Linked DNA regions of Homo sapiens: regions 1, 2, 3, 4 and 5 are each linked to region 6. The links are contacts of gene promoters, found by promoter capture Hi-C in blood cells and fetal thymus (Javierre and others, 2016). All regions are on one chromosome and are shown on one strand. The core of a region is centred on a gene start or on the middle of the fragment in contact, and the rest is flanking DNA. Distances in the headings are between cores, read along the strand shown. Region 1 overlaps LINC02131 (long intergenic non-protein coding RNA 2131). Region 2 has its middle 17 kb from the start of NUDT7. Region 3 has its middle 51 kb from the start of LINC02131. Region 4 has its middle 3.7 kb from the start of LINC02131. Region 5 has its middle 43 kb from the start of NUDT7. Region 6 holds the start of CLEC3A (C-type lectin domain family 3 member A).

Region 1 (3,479 bases), core at 219-2,718, 410 kb after region 6:
CAGCAAATTCTAAGAGGTGATCATGCTTGGAAGTAGGTGGACAACAGCTTGAAGGTTTGATGTGGTTGCCTGTTTCAGAACAGGACCCAGAAGTTGTCAAAGGCCTGGTTGCGACCAGGCCCTAGAGCATGATTAGATCAGGCCTCCAGGAATGAGTCAGGCAGATTGGAAGGAGTCTGCAACAGTAGGTTCCAATGGAAACATAATCAGTCTATGCTAGTCAGTCTTCAGTGGATGTGATACACACTTTTTCTGTCCTCCAAAGTTCAGACTTAAAAAAAGAAACAACTGAAACGTTGCTCAAGAAACATTTATTGATTATTGATGATGGTTGTGGTTATTCATTTAATTTTTAAGAGAGTATTTTTTGACCATATTGTTTTAAATGGTACATGAGAATGTATCACAGAAAAAACACCCCCAGATCTGACACATTCATGGGAATAGTGAAACTTAACAGCAGTCCTAGTGTTTTGTTCGTTATGTATAATATTTTAGAAGAATCTTTTCAAATGGGAATTTTATTGGTCTGTTGGCTCAGGGAAAAGAAAAAGACAATTGAAATACACATTATTTCAAGATGATGGAAACAGAAAATAATTCTCCACAAGAAAACATCACCCAAAGGCAAGAAGCCAAAAGAACAATAGTGGTGGTTAATATACTAATATAATAAATCTAAGCCCAAATCCTTCCTCTTACATTTAAACAAAAAGGCAATAACAATTCTATTTTGTAAGAATATCCCTGGGAATTACACGTGAAAATATTTTCTCTAGGCAGTATTTGGATTTTCATGCTCTGTAATCTATTTGCGAAACAATTTAATATCTGGTAACATCTGCATGGTCATCATGATCTGTATTTCATACTCAGAACATGTGGCAGCATACAAAAGCACATTGCCACTGTTAAGCAGTTTCAAAATTTATTGACTATATTTATAACTTTATACTTTTCCCAAAGGAACAAAATCCAATAAAATAAAAATAAGAAATGGGGGCAAGGAAAGGAGGAGGAAATCCATATGCTAACTCTCTGGGTTAATATATTTACTGTGACTGAGCTTCCAATTTGGCTCTGAGCATCCTACCTCCCCTGACCCAAAAAAGAATTTAAAATTCACAAAGCTCCCAGTAGCAGAAAATTAGAATAAAAATACTTTTATCAGGGATTTTCCCCCATCACTACATATTTTTTCTTCTTATTTTTAATTGAGACAGAGTCTCGCTCTGTCACCCAGGCTGGAGTACAGTGGCAAGATCTTGGCTCACTGCAGCCTCCACTTCTTGGACTCAAGCCTCCCACCTCAGCCTGCTGAGTAACTGGGACTACAGATGCATGCCACCATGCCTGGCTAATTTTTGTATTTTTTTTCTAGAGACATGGTTTTGTCATGGTTCCCAGGCTGGTCTCGAACTCCCAGGCTGGTCTCTGAGCTCAAATGTCCACCCTCTTCAGCCTTCCAAAGTGCTGGGATTACAGGTGTGAGCCACCACATTCTTTTCTTGTATTTTAAGTCATTAAAAAAAAAGTTTCTCTATTGTAGCCACTTCCAAAATAGAGAACCCATGACTATGTCTTAAAGTTGTAGTTTTCAAACTCCAGTTTGCCTGGTAGTCTCCTAGAGGACCTATTAAAACAGATTTCTAGGTCCTATCCGTAGAGTGTCTGAATCATTGTAGCCTGGGAATTTGTATTTCTGGCACATTCCCTGGTGATACTGATGCTGCTGGTCTATGGACCATGATTTGAGAACCACTGCTCTAAAGGAAATTTATGAAGTGATATCACAGAGGAGATATTGAGTAATCTATGGGAAAATTCCTTTAAAAGACGTCCATAGCATATGCAGCAACTATTGCAATGTGAATGCTTCTTCAGAACATTATTAGCAAAAGTCAAGGGCACAGATCCGACTTGTGCTGACATGCTTAGTAATATGGGAAAATTTTGCAGTATAATTAGTCAGCATGATCCTACTATGTAGACTTCTGATATAATACCCTCTTTGTATGTGTGTGTATGTTTACTCAATGGTGGTATTATTTAATATTTTAACTGCTTTTTTGAGGTAAGACTGACATACAAGAAGCCTATACATGTTTAATGCTTCCTACTTTATTTCAAGGAAAGTATTTAGAATTCATAAGGGAATAGGTAATATTTGAATAACATATCACTAAATGTAGATTACTTTTAAAGAAATCTTGTTCTTTATAAATTGGGCTTTTAATTGAAACTGTGATTTAAGACCTCATGCTTCTCTTAATTCGAAAGAAATGTATGGGCCGGGTGGGGTGGTTCATGCCTGTAATCCCGTACCTTGGGAGGCCGAGGCAGGCGGATCACTTGAGGTCAGGAGTTTGAGACCAGCCCGGCCAACATGGTGAAATTCCATCTCTACTAAAAATACAAAAATTAGCCAGGTGTGGTAGTGGGCACCTGTAATCCCAGCTACTTGGGAGGCTGAGGCAGGAGAATTGCTTGAACCCGGGAGGCAGAGGTTGCAGTGAGCCAAGATCACACCACTGTACTCCAGCCTGAATGACAGAGTGAGACTCCATCTCAAAAAAAAAAAAAAAAAGTATGCGTTGACTGCTGAGTGTACACACATGAATGTAAGAATTTGCTTCCTCTACCTCCAAAAATCCCATTGAAATGCTATAGATGAAATGAAGGCTTACTTGTCTAAGAATGAGAGAGGGAACTTCCAGTGGGCCAGTGGAGGTCATGAATATCTGGAGGTGAAAATGAAGATGGAGTCATAGTGACTTCACTTTTTAAACATTTTTATTTTGAAATAATTACTGAGTCATAGGAAATTACCCAAAAAATATACACGGAGTCCATACGGGTTCCATGAAGGCAGTCGCCTTTCATCCAGCATTCTTCAACGGTCACATCTTGTATCACTCTACTACAATATCAAAGGCAAGAAATTGACGTTGGTACCATCACAGAACTTCAGCCATCAGTTTTACCTGATTTATGTGCACTTGGGTATGTGTGTGTAGACATTTGGTTTTATTACATGTACGTGTGTATTTGTATAACCACCACCACAGTCGAGACACAGGACTATTAATATTTCGTCACCATGAAGATCTCCCTTGTGCTACCCATTACAGTCACACACACCCTATGTCACCCCCCATCCCTAACTCCTGGCAACCACTTATCTGTTCTCCACCTATGATTTTGTCATTTCAAGAACGTTATGTCAATGGGATCATCCAGTGTGTAAACTTTTGCCATTAGCTTTTTTCAGTCAACACATTTCCCTTGAAATCCATCCAAGTTGTTAAGCACATCAATATTTGCTCTTTTTTATTGCTGTGTAGTATTCCTTGGCATAAATGTAAAATGTTTTGTTTAATCAATCACCTATTGAAAGACCTTTGGAGGAAGGGGCTGGGAACACCCTGAGGGCAAGGCAGCAATGACAAGATTAAATTTGAGAATTACTCTTTCCCAGA
Region 2 (3,530 bases), core at 247-2,746, 320 kb after region 6:
GGTGACGATACCTATGTCAAGGGACTCGAGAGGTGTGGTGAGAAATAATTGGAATCATCCATAAAATGGAGAACTCTCCATATTCATTCAACAAGTAATAGTGCAAACTACATATGGGACACTGGAGATAGAATGATCAAGCAGACCTGATCTCTTCCACCACATGACTTATGTTCTAATGACACAGACACATAAACTGATAATCAAGGAAATAAATATATAACTTTACATTTTAGTAGGGGTTGGGCATGGTAGCTCATGCCTGTAATCCCAGCACGAGGTGACCAAGGTGGGAGAATCACTTGAGCCCAAGAGTTTGGGGCCAGCCTGGGCAGCATAGTGAGACCCCCCGTCTCTCTCTCTCTCTTTTTTTTTTCTTCGAGTTGGAGTCTCACTCTGTCGTCCAGGCTGGAATGCAGTGGTGTGGATCTCGGCTCATGGCAACCTCTGCCTCCCGGGTTCAAGCAATTCTCTGCCTCAGCCTCCCGAGTAGCTGGGATTACAGGCACACGCCACCACACCCAGCTAATTTTTGCATTTTTAGTAGAGATGGGGTTTCACCATCTAGGCCAGGTTGGTCTTGAATCCTGACCTCATGATCCGCCCGCCTCAGCCTCCCAAAGTGCTGGGATTACAGGTGTGAGCCACAGCACCTGGCCGAGACCCCTCTCTTCACAAAAAAATACAAAAAAAATTATCCTGTAGTGCCAGCTACTCGGGAGGCTGAGGCAAAAGGCTCAGTGGAGTCGCAGAGTTCGAGGCTGTAGTAAGCTGTGACTGCGCCACTGCACTCAAGCGTGGGTGACAGAGCAAGACCCTGAGTCAAAAAAAAAAACAAAAAACAGTAAAGTGAAATAACTTTCAATAGGTATCAAGAAGGGGAGAAAATACAGAAACCTCTAAGAGTATAAAGGGAGGGGGCTAATTGAGAATGAGTAGATTCTAAGAAAGTAGAATTTAAATGGAGTTCTGTTAAATGAAGGAGAGAAGTACACATGAAGTCCCAAGGTGCAAAGGAGCTCAGAGCATTGGAGGACCCAAAGGGACAACAGGTGGCTGCAGGCAGCGGGGAGGCACTGGGGCATAGAGATGTGGGAAGGGCCAGATCATGCTGGGCCTTTTCAGTCATATTACAAAATTGGAGATTTAAGCCTCCATTGCAATCTAAGCATTACCAGCATTGTAAGCATCCCCTGAAGATTCTCTCCTTAAATTGCCTCCTAGTTGCCATGTTTTTGAAAACTGTTTATGTAACAGCTGTGGCAATGAAGCTTTGTTGTTCTGTGATTACTTGTCTTGCTAACATCTGTCGGTTCCTCCTAGAACTCTGTTTACCTAAGTTGGTGAGGCTGGTACCTAGACCAATGGGCTTTAATATGATAAATGGCCCACTAAAGTGAAAGGAGCAGGCATACAATGTTAATTTCCGTTCCATCCAGGAAAAAAGAAAAAGGTTACCAGCTGTGAAAAACCACCCGACTAGAAGCAGGTTTCTGATTGTCAGCCCGCTGAGAGATAATCTTGTCAGCATGACCTGCAGAAGTGGTAATAATTTGCAATTATGTACCAGCCTTTCTCTTAGGGCACACAAACAGTTTCTAAATATTTCCCTCAACTCAGTGAGGCAGAGATGCTGGGATGTTATCATTTTGCAATTAAAAAGTCATCTTAGAATAAATGCTTTAATAACCTTTCTCATGTTGCGCGTTTGGGAAGCTTCTCGAGATTTTTTCCAGGAGGGAAATGGCACCTAGTGATGTTACGTGAACACATAAGAGCTTGGTGCTTTCCTGCTTGTTTTTACTCTGGGTTATTGCTTAAATTCTGAAGCAGCGCCATTTTGCTTTCCTTTTGCGTTTAAGCTGTACCATCAGATGTATTAGAACAAAAGCCGTTTAACCCAGACATCCCCCAGAACCAGTAATACCTTGGCGAGCCCTTTATAAAGGCCAAAGGAAATAATGGCAATGAGCTCCTTCTTTAAGTTATTCCAACAACTTCCTACATTGTTGAAGAATGTATCTCACTAATGGATTGCTGAGAAAAACACTTCCTTTTCCCATTTCAGAAATCCTTCCAGAGCTGAGACCATGCTTTCCATCACCCACGAGAACCAAGTGTCTGTTACAAGAGGTTATGGTGATGGTCTCTGCTAAGAGCCCTGATAAATGTGGGCTCTAATCTTGGTTTTGGAAGCCACTAACCTTGCATGACTTTGGCAAAACCACTTAACCTGTGAAAACTTTTTTCCCTTTTATTTGAAATGGCTGCCTTCTTGTGATTGCCCAGAAGTTCTTCTTGCCCACTGCACAGATAAAACCAATTCACTGAGACAGAGGTATTGCAGCAGAAAAAGAGTTTAATTAATGCAGGGTTAGCCACATGGAAGATGGGAGTTTATTACTCAAATCAACCTCCCTGAAAATTCAGAGGCTAGGAATTTTCAAAGATAGTTGGGTGGGCAGAGGGCTAGGGAATGGGGAATGCTGAGTAAGTCCTCCATGCATCAACTTCACCTCTCTCAGAAGCATCACAAGACAATAAAAGGAAAAAAAAATACCCTTTTCTTGAAACAAAAAGTCAGACAATTTATTAGCATCAGGAGAGTAGAGAATGATCTTCAGACATCTAGTATAAGTAACTCAACTTCTGATGGGGAAATTGGGACATTGACAATGAAATGGCAACATGTCCAAGTTCAGAAAGTTTAATAGACAGAATTGGGATTGGGACTTAGATCTCCTGTTCCAAGCCTGGAGAGGGAAGTTTGAGCAAATGAGAGTACACTGTTGGGCTTTGAGCTGTTTAAACTTAAGCAGTGGAAGTCAAGGCAAACACAACTTTCACAAAATTGAACAAGAAAGAGAAATCTCATGCAATAATAAAAACTGTGCACTAGAAATATGGCTAGTATGAATTCAGGCATGCTTTAAATATAAAATGCATACCAAATTTTGAAGACAGAAATTGTTAATAATTAATTACATGTTAAAATAATACATGAGATGAAACTAAATATATTAAGATTTCTTCTGTTTTTCTTTATTTTTCTTCTACATGCGGCTACTAGAAAATTTAAAGTCACATATGTGGCCTGCAATTATATGGCATATTACATTTACATTTTTACTGAATAGTGTTGATGTAAGGGACTTAGTAAAATGCAGTTTCCAGAACCCCTCTCCAGAAGAAGTAAATAGCATCTTTGGTTTTGAAATTTGAGGACCTTAATTTTAGGATTCCCAGGTAATTCTGTTGCAAAGTAAGTGTTGAGACTAGAATGTGGCCCCAGTAAGCTGGAGATGGCTGCGGGCTGCCCCTTTAGTTCACCGCAGTCTGCACTATTCCCTGTTGTCCCCTAGACATTGAAGCAGAGCATCCCTTGACATTGATCCTACAACAAACATCAGCACAAGTGAATGGATACAGATGAGTGTAAAATATTTTTATTTACCCACGTCTCAAACTTACTTGGAGGAAAAATATAAATCATCTTTACTTCCACATATACTCCCTCCCATTTTTCTTGA
Region 3 (3,508 bases), core at 846-3,345, 380 kb after region 6:
TCCCACTTTGATAAGTATTTTCTCTCCTTGTCAGCTCTTTAAGGCCAGATTGCCTAGACGCCCCCCATCCCTGCCACCCCCGCCCCACATCCCCCGCCCAACTGGGCTCCCTGCCTCTGTGAAAGCAGAGGCATCTCTCATAAGATTTCAAGCGTAAATGCTCCCCATCCACATGCCAGAAGTGTGTACAATTCAAATATAGGGAAAATCAAATATACCAAAATAGGGTTTCTTGAAAATCCTTCTGCTAAGAGTAACCAGAAAATGCTTACCTGCCTGCTTGATATCAACTAATAATTTAAGAAAAACACACATATGAAAGTTGCTTTTTATAATTTCAGAGTTTGGAAATTAAAGGGGGGGAAAAGTTGCCGAGAAAAATGTGTTAAGTTTACTGATCCTCAACTATCTGGAAAACAGTTTGAGATCCTCAGCCAAACATAAAAATCTCTGGCTAGGTTTTTATAACCCTGCTATCGACAGCTAATTTCTTGAGCAAATTTATTCACTGTTTTTTTTTTTTTTTTTAAATTGGTAGCGCGAGCCACCTCAGATGTGCATCCTGTTGAGAAATTCCTGAGTTCAACTTTCTTAAGCATTTCTGTTTCCTTCTTAGGTCTGAAAGAAAATTCTGGCAACATGACATAGTGTTTTTGTTTTTTTTGTTTTGTTTTGTTTTGTTTTGTTTTGTTTTGTTTTTTTTTGAGACAGAATTTTGCTCTTGTTGCCCAGGCTGGAGTGCAATGGTGTGATCTCGGCTCACTGCAACCTCTGCCTCCCATGTTCAAGCGATTCTCCTGCCTCAGCCTCCCTAGTAACTGGGATTATGGCACGCGCCACGTGCCCCCTCGCTCAGCTCATTTTGTATTTTTAGTAGAGGTAGGGTTTCACCATGTTGGCCAGGCTGGTCCTGAACTCCTGACCTCAAGTGATCCCACCTCGGCCTCCCAAAGTGCTGAGATTACAGGCAAGAGCCACCGCGCCAAGCCATGACATTTTTTGACTGTGACCTTTCACCAAAGGGCACACGGTGGAGAAGCCCTTCTTACCTTCTGAAGATAAGGCAAAACGTCTTGTCTCTAACACAGCCTTCTTTCTTTGTTTTTTTTTAGGGGTTAGAAGGAAGAAAAAGCTGAAACTCTGGATTTTGACAGTAGAATTCAGCTCTTTGTCTCAGGAGGAAATGTCTATGGCTGTTTAAAACTTGGAATCTTAAGCTAGAATCTGATTTCATTTATAAAAACCAAATCATTTATTTAGTGTCTGAACAGGGCCTTACATCTAGGTCACTGTTCTTAACTTGGATTGTAAGTAACTCTTTGTTTAGGTTTCCTCCCAAAGCAGGCCTTGAGACAAGGACTCGTGTGTGGTTAATTTATTAGGAAGTGGATCCAGAAAAAACAGGTGAGGAAGTAGAGTTAGGGGCAGGAAAAGGAGGAAAAGGAGGAAAGCCAATCAGTGAGGCACTCATGAGCAGACTTTCTGCAGTGGACAACCAGGACTCACTCCCACTGGAGACCCTCTGAGAATCTACGTAGGGCACAGCCACCATGAGGATGGGAAAACCAGTGCGTTTATGCACCAACTCTAATCGTTCCCCTTTCCCACAGCAAGTATCCAGGGAACCCGAGGAAATTCTGACAGTGACTGGAAATATAGGCATTGGAGGGGAAAGCTGCCAGCATGCTGGAGACAATCAGGGCCTGGGGAGCTTCCACGGGCCAAGGAGATGCACGAGGCGTTGGCAGACTGTGATTCAGTGCTTGTAGACAAATTATGTCCCCTCTAAACCCTCATTTCTCATCTTTAAAAGAAGGAATTGGAATTTCCAAACTGGGTCTCCTGAATGACAGATGCTCCTTACAAAAATTGTTTCTTGGTGAAATAACTGCATTCACAGCAACCTGGATAGAAGTGGAGACCATTATTCTAAGCAAAGTAACTCAGGAATGGAAAATAATACGTTGTATGTTCTCCCTCATAAGTGGGAGCTAAGCTATGAGGATGCAAAGGATTAAGAATGATATAATGGACTTTGGGGACTTAAGGAAAGGGCGGGAGGGGGATGAAGGATAAAAGACCACACATTCTGTACAGTGTATACTGCTCGGGTGATAGGTTCACCAGAATCTCAGAAATCACCCCTAAATAACAGTAATGTAACCAAATACCACCTGTTCCACAAAAACCCATTGAAATTTAAAAAAGGTTACTTGGTCAAATAGCTTTAGGAAGTATTAGATTTAACATTTTTTAAAACTGCAGGGCATCTTAGAGCCTCTAGCCAAGAGTGGGAGAGCAGGGATGGTGTATTTGACCATGGGATCCTCACTCTTGTTGTTTTTCCAGACAACACCTGTGAATGTCTTGAGGCTGTGGTGGTTTGTGGCATATGGTTTGGGACAAGCTACATTAGGTTACTCAACTCCAGCCCAGCTCTCTGGTTGACAGAGTCAATAATTGCAACTCTTTAACTTGGTTCAGAGGAGATGTGGAATGCATCAGACGGGTTCTAGGCTTTCAAATCCCATTTTCATCTCTTATCTGTTGGACTTGTGACTCCGCTTTCTTTTGATAAGAGCTTTCTGCAATGAGAAACAAAATTAAAAAACCAGTGTATCTAGGAGAAGGACCTGGGAAGCCACGTTGTGGGCTTGATAGAGATAACTGTAGGGTCAGAAGAAAGGGAGACTGGACTCTGGTCTCGGCTAGACTGAGGCATTCCCACCTGTGCTGTCAAAGGACTCTTTAGCAGCTTTCCTGTGGGTGTTTCCAATCCTTATCACACCTTAGAATTACCTGAGGTGCGTTTTTTTGTTTTTATTATTGAGACAGTTTCGCTCTGTCACCCAGGCTAGAGTGCAGTGGTGCTGTCTCAGCTCACTGCAAGCTCTGCTTCCCGTGTTCACGCTATTCTCCTTCCTCAGCCTCCTGAGTAACTGGGACTACAGGTGCCCGCCACCTGCGCCCGGCTAATTTTTTTGTATTTTTAGTAGAGACAGGGTTTCACCATGTTAGCCAGGATGGTCTCAATCTCCTGACCACCTGAGGAGCTTTTAAAATAAGACCTGTGCTTGAGACTTCCTCCCAAAAAGACAGTTTATTGTTTTTAGTGTTTCTGAATGTTGTCAGAGAATAGGACAGACCACAAATGACTTAAACTGTGATTTTATTTTTAAGGCTCCCAGGATGTGATATTTCCAAGGGAAGGGATAAGTTAGCTAGCATTGGTGGCTACTCTGTTAGAAAGTAGCTAGCATTGGTGGGAGACCCTGTGCATAGTCTCTTACTTAATACGTGCACTTGGTGAAAAAGGATATTTTGAAACTGATTTGCTCACAAAGACCCTGTATTAGATTCCTATTGATTGCAGCTGTAATAAATTGCCACAAATTTAGTGGCTTAAAACAAAATATATTTATTATTTTACAATTTTGGGGGTCAGAAGTCCAAAATGAGACTGACAGGGTGAAAATCAAGGTGTTGGCAGGGCTGCCTCCTCCTGGAG
Region 4 (3,498 bases), core at 136-2,635, 430 kb after region 6:
GTGTTGAGTACCTGGACAAGGGTTAGAGTACCTGTCCCATCTGTCTTCCCAGACAGCTTTGACCTCTGGAAAAATTTCTCCCTCCAGTCTGAAAAGGTATTTACCCCCCAAAATTTTGACTAATTCTCCTCTTCCAGGATGTAGCTCTTCTCATGCCCGTGTGTAAATCTTGTTAAGCCTAAAGGCCAATCCATCCCATAAATTTTTCCTGGTTGCAGGTCATATTTCACTCACTTCTGCACCCTTCCCCAACACTTTAACTGCACTTTTGGAATGGTACTCATCCCTTGTTTAATACCACTTCGTTTATTCATTCATCCATCCATCCATCAAACACACAGGTCATTGACTATGCATTCTCCATCCTGCTATCAGTGTGTGTCTTAACTAGCACTTTTATGAGACCACAGGCCTTTTGAGGTCAGGGATCCTGTTTTATTTCTCCTGGTACATCAGAGCCTAGCACTGGGATGAGCATAATCTATATGCTCGGTAAAGCTTTTTGTGATGAATGGGAGGGGGATGAATACTCTATCTCAACCTCCCTGTCCTCAGTGTTCTTGGCATAGAGACTTGCATACAGTAGGCATCAAAAACACACATGTTGATTGAGTGTTGCCTTCATACCATTTTACTCAGCCTGTAATGCTGTTTCTTTACTTGAGGGACTTGGTTGCCAAATATCTTGACCTTTTGCCTTTTCCCTGGTGAAAGGGCAGGACTTGTGAATGAGAGGGGGCTCTAAGCCCTGGAACGGCAAGAGTCTGAAAGCACGCGGGTTAGAGGGAGAGAGGTGAGCGTAGGGCATGGGTGGTGGGGAGGGGGTTGTGAGTTCCAGCTCGTCCTTAACACCCATCTGGGTGGCCTCTGAAACCAGACAGGGTAATTATCCCTCCGGCCCCTGTGCTCTAAATTATTTACATTTCCCAGGCAAGACACTGAAAGGGGAAGCATAGAAGGACCCTGCCTCCTCCTATTATCAGACTTGACTGTTCCATTTCCTCCCCGGCTGATCTAAGATGGTTTGTGGAATTCAGAAAGGGGCACCAGGTTCAGAGTCAGGAAGCCCAGGGTTTGAATCCCAGCCCGTGATTTTGAAAGGTTGCTTTATCCAGAGGGGTATCCATTTCCCCTTCTGTAGTATGGAGGTAATAAAAGTCCCCATCTCACAGGGGCTGATGTAAATGAAAACAAAGCCAAAAAAGCAACCAAATGCACATGTAAAATGCAACAACGTATGTATAGAGAATCAATGAACACCTGCCATTTTCCTTTCCTCTGCCTTGTTTTACAAATATTTGAATGCTTCCTTATCTTGCCTCTTGAGGAAATACTTTTGGAGACATTGGCTTTCTAGCAGAAGAACTAAAGATTGGATGAATCTCTCATTCTGGGTTTCATAACCTTGGTCACTGCTGATAATTGACATCGGATAATTCTTTGTTGGGCAGTGGGGAGGGCTCACCCAGTGCAGCGTAAGATGTTTAGCAGTGTTCTTCGCTGTGATCTGTAGATCACCATCAGTAGCACTCACCTCTTACTTGTGATAGCCAAAAATGTCTGCACATATTGCCAGATCCCCTGGGGTGGCGGGCCGGGGGGCACAGTTGTCTTCCACAGAGGATTACTATGGACAAATGACTAAAGAGCTCCTTGCAGGGTGTGGGAGGCAGATGAGCTGGTGATGGGAGTGGCTCCCAGAAGTGATTTCTTTCCTCCTTTGCAAGGGAAGTGCATCCCTTAGGATCCAAGTGCTGAAGGAGAACAGGCTGTACTGTGGTCCCAACGCCTGGAGAAGGCAGAGAAACAAGACTATCAGACTCGAGGTTTGTCATGGTTAACAGGCGCTTTGTGTCAGGGCCACCTGAGGGCACTTGCCAAATTAGGTAACCAGGACCCCAGACATGACAGCTGTGCAGACCCAGGGTCACTGGCCCCTATAGAGGTGTCTCCCTACATGGGAGGAAGACACCATTCCTAAAACTCAGACATCCAGGTCGGATGCTGGTTCAATCTCCTGGTTCAAGCAGTCCAGCCCCAGTAGCTGAAACTACAGGCACATGCCACTATGCCTGTCTAATTTTTTGTATGTTTTGTAGAAACGAGGTTTCACCATGTTCCTCAGGTTGGTCTCGAACTCCTGGACTCAAGCAATCTGCCAGCCTCAGCCTCCCAAAGTGTAGGGATTACAGGCATGAGCCCCACTGTTCCTGGCCAAAATGTTCACTTTTAAGCAGCCTCACAAGAGATTGTGATACCCACAGAAGCTTTAGGATCTCTGCCCTCATTGGGAAGGCTATAAGCTTTAGATCTGGAACTGAATTTCATGCCCCCTCAAACCCAAACACTTACTAGATGTGTGATCTTTAAAAAGTTTTACTGAGCTGCCTTCCTAAAACAGGTTCAACAATGTTTGCCACCCTGGATCATTACAGAGATAAAATACCATTTTCTGAGTAGCCATTAAGTGTCAAGTATGTGGAAAGTACTTTTCATAGGTGATTTCAATGTGCATTCTTATAAAATTCCAAAGGAAGAGAATAATTTTACTTTTCATCACAGGGCTCTGCTGTGTGAATATTAAGCCCATTCTATAGATTAAGAAACTGACGCTTGTTAAGTCCCTTGCTCAAGGGTGATACAGGCCTATAGCTCCCTCTTCCATGGCTCACCCCAGGTTTTTTCGCTCTGCATTGAGCCTTTTCACCTCTGATCTCTCCTCACCAGTAAATTGCCACACTTGATTTCTACCCCCAACCTGGGCACTTACTCAGTATTAATGTGTAGGATTCTTTCCTAGAGTAATGCCAAGGAAAATCCAATCAGATGTCAACAAGAGGATCTCATCTGAGAAACCGATGCCAGGTGGGAAATGAGTCAGGACAGCACAGTAGGTGGGAAATGAGTCAGCTAGAATCTTTTGCCTTCTCTAGAAACAAAGACACTTAGACTGATCCACAAGTGAAGGGATCTTGGCACGTGTTCTGCTCTGGGATGAGTGCAGGTCCCTTACAGTAACTCTCCTGATGATCCTCACTTCCACCCCAATTTACTTTTACCTAGCACCAGTCTGAGGCCTTTTGTCACCAACATAAATATCCTTTCAGCTTCCCCTTTCGATGCAGGAAATAACTGCTAGTAACGGCGAAAGCCAAGACTGGACCACGTCACACGAATTCCACTCCCGAACCTCTTTTTTTTTTGGGGCCAATTAGCTGAAAGGGTTCGGGGAGCTGATCACAATCACTCATTGGGATCTTTCAGGAAGCAGGGGCAGAAATGAATTGATGGAAGTGGGTAGCGCTTTTCTTACGTTATTGGCTTTACTTGAAAACTCTGTTCAGGAAATTGTGGGCATTCGTTAAAGTGCTGCTTTGACCCCTGACTTCCATGGACTCACTGTGAAAACAGCTGATTGGTGAGATGGGAGGATGAGCTGAGTAATACAGGACACCATGACGTGAATCACAGAGGCCCAAGCTCTTGCACATTGCACAG
Region 5 (3,027 bases), core at 526-3,025, 340 kb after region 6:
TAGTTGCACAGAGCCAGTAAGATAAGTCAGAAAGCTGTTGTAAATGTAAAGAGGAATGGGCCAGGGCATGGCTGGGAAATGTAGAAGGGTAGGGTAGGGTGACAATCTGAATATATAATTACTGGGTTACTTACTAAGAGACCTAGCAGTCGTTTCCCTTTCAACTTCTCCCCAACCATGGAGCAAGAACAAGGTTCGAAGCAGCTTAAAACCAGAAGGCTCTTTGGATTAAAGATAGTTGAAATTCCCAGCATTTTGGAGTTCCTAAAACAACTCAGGAAACTCATGCTCCTGCTAACATTCTGTTTTCTACAGCACCTTTGTCCCAGGGGTAATTACAGGGCATCTTTTTTTTTTCCTTCACACTATAGCTCCTTTTTCTTTCTTTCTTTTTTTTTTTTAAGAAAATCATTTGTCTTATTAAAAATGACCAGTATGAGAGGCCAGGTACGGTGGCTCACGTCTGTAATTCCAACACTTTGAAAGGCTGAGGTGGAAGGATTGCTTGAGCCCAGGAGTTTGAGACCAGCCTGGGCAACTTAGCAAGACCCTGTCTCTACAAAAAATTACCCACGCTCCTGCAAAATAAATAAATAAATAAATAAAGACCAGCCTGGGAATGTAAAATAGCGCAGCCACTTTGGAAAACAGTTTGGCAGTTTGTTAAAAAGTTACACATAAAACAAGTTCAGGCCTGGCACAAAGGCTCACATCTGTAATACCAACACTTTGGGAGGCTGAGGCATGAGTATTACTTGAGCTCAGGGGGTTGAGACAAGCCTGGGCAACATAGGGAAACCTTATCTCTTTAAACAAAACAAAACAAAACAAAAAAAGCTGGGTGAGGTGGCATGCACCTGTAGTCTCAGTTACTCTGGAGACTGAGGTGGGAGGATCGCTTGAGCCCTGGAAGGTGAGGCTGCAGTGAGTAGTGATCATGCTGCTGCACTCCAGCCTAGGCAACAAAGCGAGACACAGTCTCAAAAAAAATAAATAAATAAAATTCAAAGTATTAAAAATTAGACATAAATTTACTATATAATCCAGCAATTCTATTACAATGTATCTACACAAAGGAACGGAAAACACGTGTCCACATGAAGACTTGGACATGAATTATCATAGCAACATTATTTGTAATGGTTGAAAACTGGAAACAATCACAAATCCATTGAATGGTAAATGCTTAAACAAAATGAACTGCATCCATAAAAGGAATATTAATCAGGAATAAAAAAGGAACAAAGCCCTGTTACATGCTAGAATGTAGATGAATCTGAAAAACATATGCTGAGTGAAAGAAGCCAGATGCAAACACAGTTTCTATGGTGGCATTGACGTGAAATGTCGTGAAAAGCAGAACTTTAGCAACAGAGGATTAGGGGTTACTGGAGGTGGAAATGAGGCATATAACCTCAAACTGACACAAGGGACCTCCTTGGGCTAACGGAAATGTTCTAAAACTGGATTATGGCACTAGTTGCATAACTGAAAATTTACTGCAAAAATCATTGAATTGTACACTTAAAACAAATGAATTTTATGGTACTGTATATAAATTATATCTTTAAAAATATTTTTATAATGATCAATAGCCTTCTAAAATTTTCATTTAGGTTAGATGGCATATCTGAAATGTCATTTTAAACATTAACAACTATAGCAGTCATTTTGGCTCCACACTCTAAAAAACACAACTTTCAAAGCTGTTTTATTCTTTGGCTTAGGAAAGAAAAGAACACAAGACTTTAAGATGGCTCAGGGATTTAGTAAGTCATTGAAGCTGAAACTTTCCACCATGTTCATTGAAATTAAAAGATTATGATTTGCAGATGTTTTCCAGTGGGTCTGGACTGTTTGTCAGCATTTCAGATTCTGTAGAACTTTTTGGGCATGCAATGGAGCAATTAGTGCTGACAGCCCTTTTCTATAATTGTGCTATATCTAAGGCTAGCCCTGGAAATAAACGGTGTTGCTCAACTAACAGCTACGAATTAGCCAAGACAAGAGCATGTTACTTTCCTTTGGTTATGTATCAAATTAGCATTTCACAGGATCGCATGTCTTTTTTGAAGAGCCATGAAGCAGACATTATGGACGCATTTAAAGGAGTCTAATTTGCCTCGATTCTAGTTGTATGTATTAAGCCAACTTTTCTTGGATAAGGACTGAAAGGTATGTAGAGAAATTTAAGTCTAGGAGAGAGATTTATAAGATCAGCACAGATCATTCCCAAGAATCCAAGCAGGCATCGCATGACATTTCAGACTTAACCTTTCACCTCCTAGGAGAGCTGGGTCTTCTGCTCCAGGCTTCCACAGTGATTAAGAACAGTCACTAGTCTCAACCACGCCTATGTTTTGAGTTCTGATTCTACCACATGTTACAACCTTTTTTTGTTTGTTTGTTTGTTTTTTTGAGACCAAATCTCGCTTTGTCGTCCAGGCTGTAGTGCAGTGGTGTGATCTCGACTCACTGCAACCTCCGCCTCCCAGTTTTAAATGATTCTCCGGCCTCAGCCTCCTGAGTAGCTGGCATTACAGGTGTGTGCCACCACGCCCAGCTAATTTTTGTATTTTTAGTAGAGATGGGGTTTCACCATGTCGGCCAGGGGTGGTCTCGAACTCCTGGCCTCAAGTGATCCACCCACCTCCACCTCCCAAAGTATTGGGATTACAGGTGTGAGTCCCCGTGCCAGGCTTTTTTTTTTTTTTTTTTCCTGGGACAGGGTCTCACTCCTGTCTCCCAGGCTGGAGTGGCAGTGGCACAATCACAGCTCACCACAGCCTTGATGTCCTGGGCTCAGGTGATCGTCCCGCCTCAGCCTCCCAAGTAGCTGGGACTATAGGTGCATTGCTAATATTTTTTGTATTTTTAGTAGAGATGGGGTCTCTTTATCTTGCCCAGGCTGGCCTTGAACTCCTGGGTTCAGGCAATCCTTGCCCCTCGGCCTCCCAAAGTGCTGGAATCACAGGCATGAGCCACTGTGCCTGGTATCTCCTACTATCATTGCAACTTTTGGTGAAT
Region 6 (3,350 bases), core at 851-3,350:
TGCTTGATCGGTTTAGGTTTATTGCTTCACCTACTGTAGAATCTACTTTCTAGGACCTAATGGCAAAAAGTAGCAAAAACTATACTGGGGGAATGACATTTAAGAGGTGTGTACCTAGTCAGTTTTGTTTTGTTTTGTTTTTAAATAAAAGCATGTGCATGCACATGTGGTTATGACAGAGGCAGTGGGGAAGAAGGGGGTAAAGAAGTGGGAAAGAAGGTAGGGAGAGAGAAGAGAGTGGGAGGAGGAAGGGGAGGGAGGCCCCTGGAAAACCTGGATGTGACCTAAGCTGCGATTACTTCAGAAACACCCACACAGCACCCACATGCACACTCAGTCATGTTCAGACCCTCTTCACACATTCCTACTGGGTGATCGCCACTCTCACGAGGAGTGCCACTCCATCCAGCAGTGAAGAAACGCTGGCTACAGAAATGTACCATGTCACCCAGTATCTTCTCTCTCCCCTCTCCTTTCGATACCATCTTCAGCAATATGTTTCATCTACTCATGAGAAATATTTTAATCTTTCACCGAAAGAAGTACAGTATTTCTTAAGGAAAAAAGATTCCACTTAAGAAACCTTGCACTAGCCGGGCGCGGTGGCTCACGCCTGTAATTCCAGCACTTTGGGAGGCCGAGGCTGACGAATCACGAGGTCAGGAGATCGAGACCATCCTGGCTAACACGGCGAAACCTCGTCTCTACTAAAAATACAAAAAATTAGTCGAGCGTGGTGGCAGGCGCCTGTAGTCCTAGCTACTTGGGAGGCTGAGGCAGGAGAATGGCGTGAACCCAGGAGGTGGAGCTTGTAGTGAGCCAAGATTGTGTCACTGCCCTCCAGCCTGGGCGACAGAGCGAGACTCTGTCTCAGAAAAAAAAAAAAAAAAGAAACCTTGCACCAGACCTAAATTTTGTAAATAAATGTCCCTGAAAAAATGGTACTTTATAATCCTTAAAGCACAAGACCCCTTTTTACCCACCAGCCATCTGTCATGTGAAATAGACTGTAACCTTGCTGAAATTTGTGTATGTGTGTGTTGTTACTAATGGAGTGAAAATAAGGAAATAGTCATAATCTGAAATATCCTGAAATGAAAATGATGCAGAGGATGTGATAAAACATGACCCTCTGTCTTGTTTTTTTCTTTTGCTTAGGTTTCAACGTATTGCAAACACCTCGCTATCATCATTGTTCTTTTCAATTTCTTTAACCTGTTAACCCAATTCAAGTCACTCAAAATTTGAGGTTCCTGGGAGATTCAGTTTTGCATCACAATGCCTTCAAATACTAGATGACTTTGCATATTGACTTTTTTAAGTTGGAGAGATTCAATGTCTCTGACATGAAAAAGTTTAAATATATGGTATAGGTTGTCCTTATGCTGCCAAGGATATGGAAATACAGCTAATGATAACTAATGACAAAACAGGAAGTCACCATTACCAAAATCTCTATCCTCTGCTACACATTGAATAAGATTATAGTTATCTTAAAATATAACTGAATTGAGTTACTCAATATCTACTAGTGAAACAGTGTGCTCAGTTAATACATTCTTCTTGCCCCATATTAATAACACCAGATTTTCAGAAATCCACTTGAGCTTCCTCTGAAGCACATTCTATTTAAGCCCACCTAACAAAAAATATACAACACAGAATTCTTTTACTATCAAATTTTTTCCCTGTTGTTTTTTTTTAAAACCCAGCAGCCTGGTTTCTTTAAAATAAACTATCCCAGAGCATTACAAGTTCACTTAATCCCCTGAAATGCCATATAGGGATGATGGCATGGTGCCATCACCGAAGATAGTCTCCTGGAGGAGTTTGAAAATTAACATTGTCCAGCACCTCCCCACACTGTCTAAGCCTAGAATTTTGCTTGATTGAGAAGCCCCATTACCTCTCACTCGACGTTTGCTGTGCTTCCTGGCTTTTAATCTGGATGTGTGGCTGGTGGTCTGGTCCAGGAGTAAGGTGATCACCAGGATGCAAATTACAAGTCCATTCTTTGCCATGGCTCTGGGGCAAGCCTGCTGAGCCATGTTGCCAGCCCCCTTAGAGCAGCTATGGAAGGAGACTACACAGCTACATCTTGCTCTGGGATGCCTGGGGCTGGCTTATAAAAGTGAGCTTCGGAGGTTGGCTGGAATCCTGCTGACGGAATGTTTGAATGCCTCTGCTGGCCACAGCATAAGGTGGCCTCTTGTTCTTGTGCCTCATGTTAGGCTTTCTATTTATTTAATTTCTGCTGCATTTCCTAGTGATTTGCCTTTTTGGAGTGTGTCAAACTTAACTACAGGTTTAGCCTGCTTTCTTTTTTTAAATTTAAACTCTGAGAAGATTGGGGTCTTTGTGAAAAATTCTTTGATTTGGAACTCTGAAATTCACTAAATGTTCTGGAAAATGGATTCAATTTAGTTTTCAGGGCAAAAAAAAAATTGGAGAAAAAGGAAAGTTACTGCGTGTGTGTGTGTGTGTGGTGCCACAGCACCATTCAAGCCAGTGTGTCTACTCATACTCATGTGTCTGCGCAGCTCAAGTGTAGCTTGGAAGTAGTTTTCTCAGTGGGATTTATGGAGATTGCGGAAATAGATACTCGATGATAAAATATAGGGCTTTCCTCCATTAGGATTTTGTAGACTCATCAAGAATTACTTCCTTGGGGCTGCATGTGGTGGCTCACACCTGTAGTCCCAGTGGGAGGCCGAAGTGGGTGGATCCCTTGAGGTCAGGAGTTCGAGAAGAGCACGGGCAACATGGCGAAACACCATCTCTACAAAAAAATAAAAAAATTCATCAGGCATGGTGGCACACATTTGTAATGCCAGCTACCTGGGAGGTTGAGGTGTGAGAATCACCTGAGCCCCAGGAGTTCGAGATCACTGCCCTCCAGCCCGGGCAAATTACTTTCTTGGGAAAATGTACCTTACAGTGAAAAGAAAATTTTAAAAAGTGAATTATTTCCATTAGAATAAGAATTAATGTAATAGATCAATAGCTATTTTTTCAGGTCCTCACCAATCATTTTTCCTTGAACACATTAAACAACACTTTCAAGTGCATGATGTAATAGCACAGAAACCTAGTGAGAGACTCGCCGGGCGTGGTGGCTCACGCCTGTAATCCCGGCACTTTGGGACGCTGAGGTGTGTGGATCACTTGAGGTCAGGAGTTCGAGACCAGCCTGGCCAACATGAGGAAACCCTGTCTCTACTAAAAAACGCAAAAAGATTAGTTGGGCGTGGTGGCAGGAGTCTGTAGTCCCAGCTACTCTGGAGGCTGAGGCAGGAGAATCGCTTGAACTCACAAGGCAGAAGTTGCAGTGAGCCGGGATTTTGTCACAG

What was found. Contacts are between HindIII fragments. The CHiCAGO score rates a contact against its expected background, and 5 or more counts as called.
Region 1: a contact is called between a fragment that was not itself captured here and the fragment with the promoter of CLEC3A in region 6, in 1 of 17 cell types (M0 macrophages). The highest score is 8.1, in M0 macrophages.
Region 2: a fragment that was not itself captured here is called in contact with the fragment with the promoter of CLEC3A in region 6 in 1 of 17 cell types (endothelial precursors); the score reaches 5.3 in endothelial precursors.
Region 3: a contact is called between a fragment that was not itself captured here and the fragment with the promoter of CLEC3A in region 6, in 2 of 17 cell types (M2 macrophages and M0 macrophages). The highest score is 5.7, in M2 macrophages.
Region 4: a fragment that was not itself captured here is called in contact with the fragment with the promoter of CLEC3A in region 6 in 1 of 17 cell types (M0 macrophages); the score reaches 6.4 in M0 macrophages.
Region 5: a contact is called between a fragment that was not itself captured here and the fragment with the promoter of CLEC3A in region 6, in 17 of 17 cell types (M0 macrophages, monocytes, M1 macrophages and 14 more). The highest score is 13.9, in M0 macrophages.

The regions. Positions count from the first base shown.
Region 1 is chr16:77,609,978-77,613,456 of GRCh38, reverse strand. It overlaps LINC02131 (long intergenic non-protein coding RNA 2131), which reads right to left. Exons shown (of 3, transcript NR_184319.1): 3 at 2,779-2,920. Among named protein-coding and RNA genes, the nearest start is that of LINC02131, 21 kb to the right of the region's middle. The HindIII fragment of the contact is 4,696 bases long and covers 1-3,479 here.
Region 2 is chr16:77,703,516-77,707,045 of GRCh38, reverse strand. No RefSeq gene overlaps it. Among named protein-coding and RNA genes, the nearest start is that of NUDT7, 17 kb to the left of the region's middle. The HindIII fragment of the contact is 445 bases long and covers 1,274-1,718 here.
Region 3 is chr16:77,639,944-77,643,451 of GRCh38, reverse strand. No RefSeq gene overlaps it. Among named protein-coding and RNA genes, the nearest start is that of LINC02131, 51 kb to the right of the region's middle. The HindIII fragment of the contact is 6,955 bases long and covers 1-3,508 here.
Region 4 is chr16:77,585,446-77,588,943 of GRCh38, reverse strand. No RefSeq gene overlaps it. Among named protein-coding and RNA genes, the nearest start is that of LINC02131, 3.7 kb to the left of the region's middle. The HindIII fragment of the contact is 1,769 bases long and covers 501-2,269 here.
Region 5 is chr16:77,678,451-77,681,477 of GRCh38, reverse strand. No RefSeq gene overlaps it. Among named protein-coding and RNA genes, the nearest start is that of NUDT7, 43 kb to the left of the region's middle. The HindIII fragment of the contact is 9,706 bases long and covers 1-3,027 here.
Region 6 is chr16:78,021,298-78,024,647 of GRCh38, reverse strand. It overlaps CLEC3A (C-type lectin domain family 3 member A), which reads right to left and starts at 2,100. Exons shown (of 3, transcript NM_005752.6): 1 at 1,907-2,100. The coding sequence starts at 2,021. The HindIII fragment of the contact is 14,741 bases long and covers 1-3,350 here.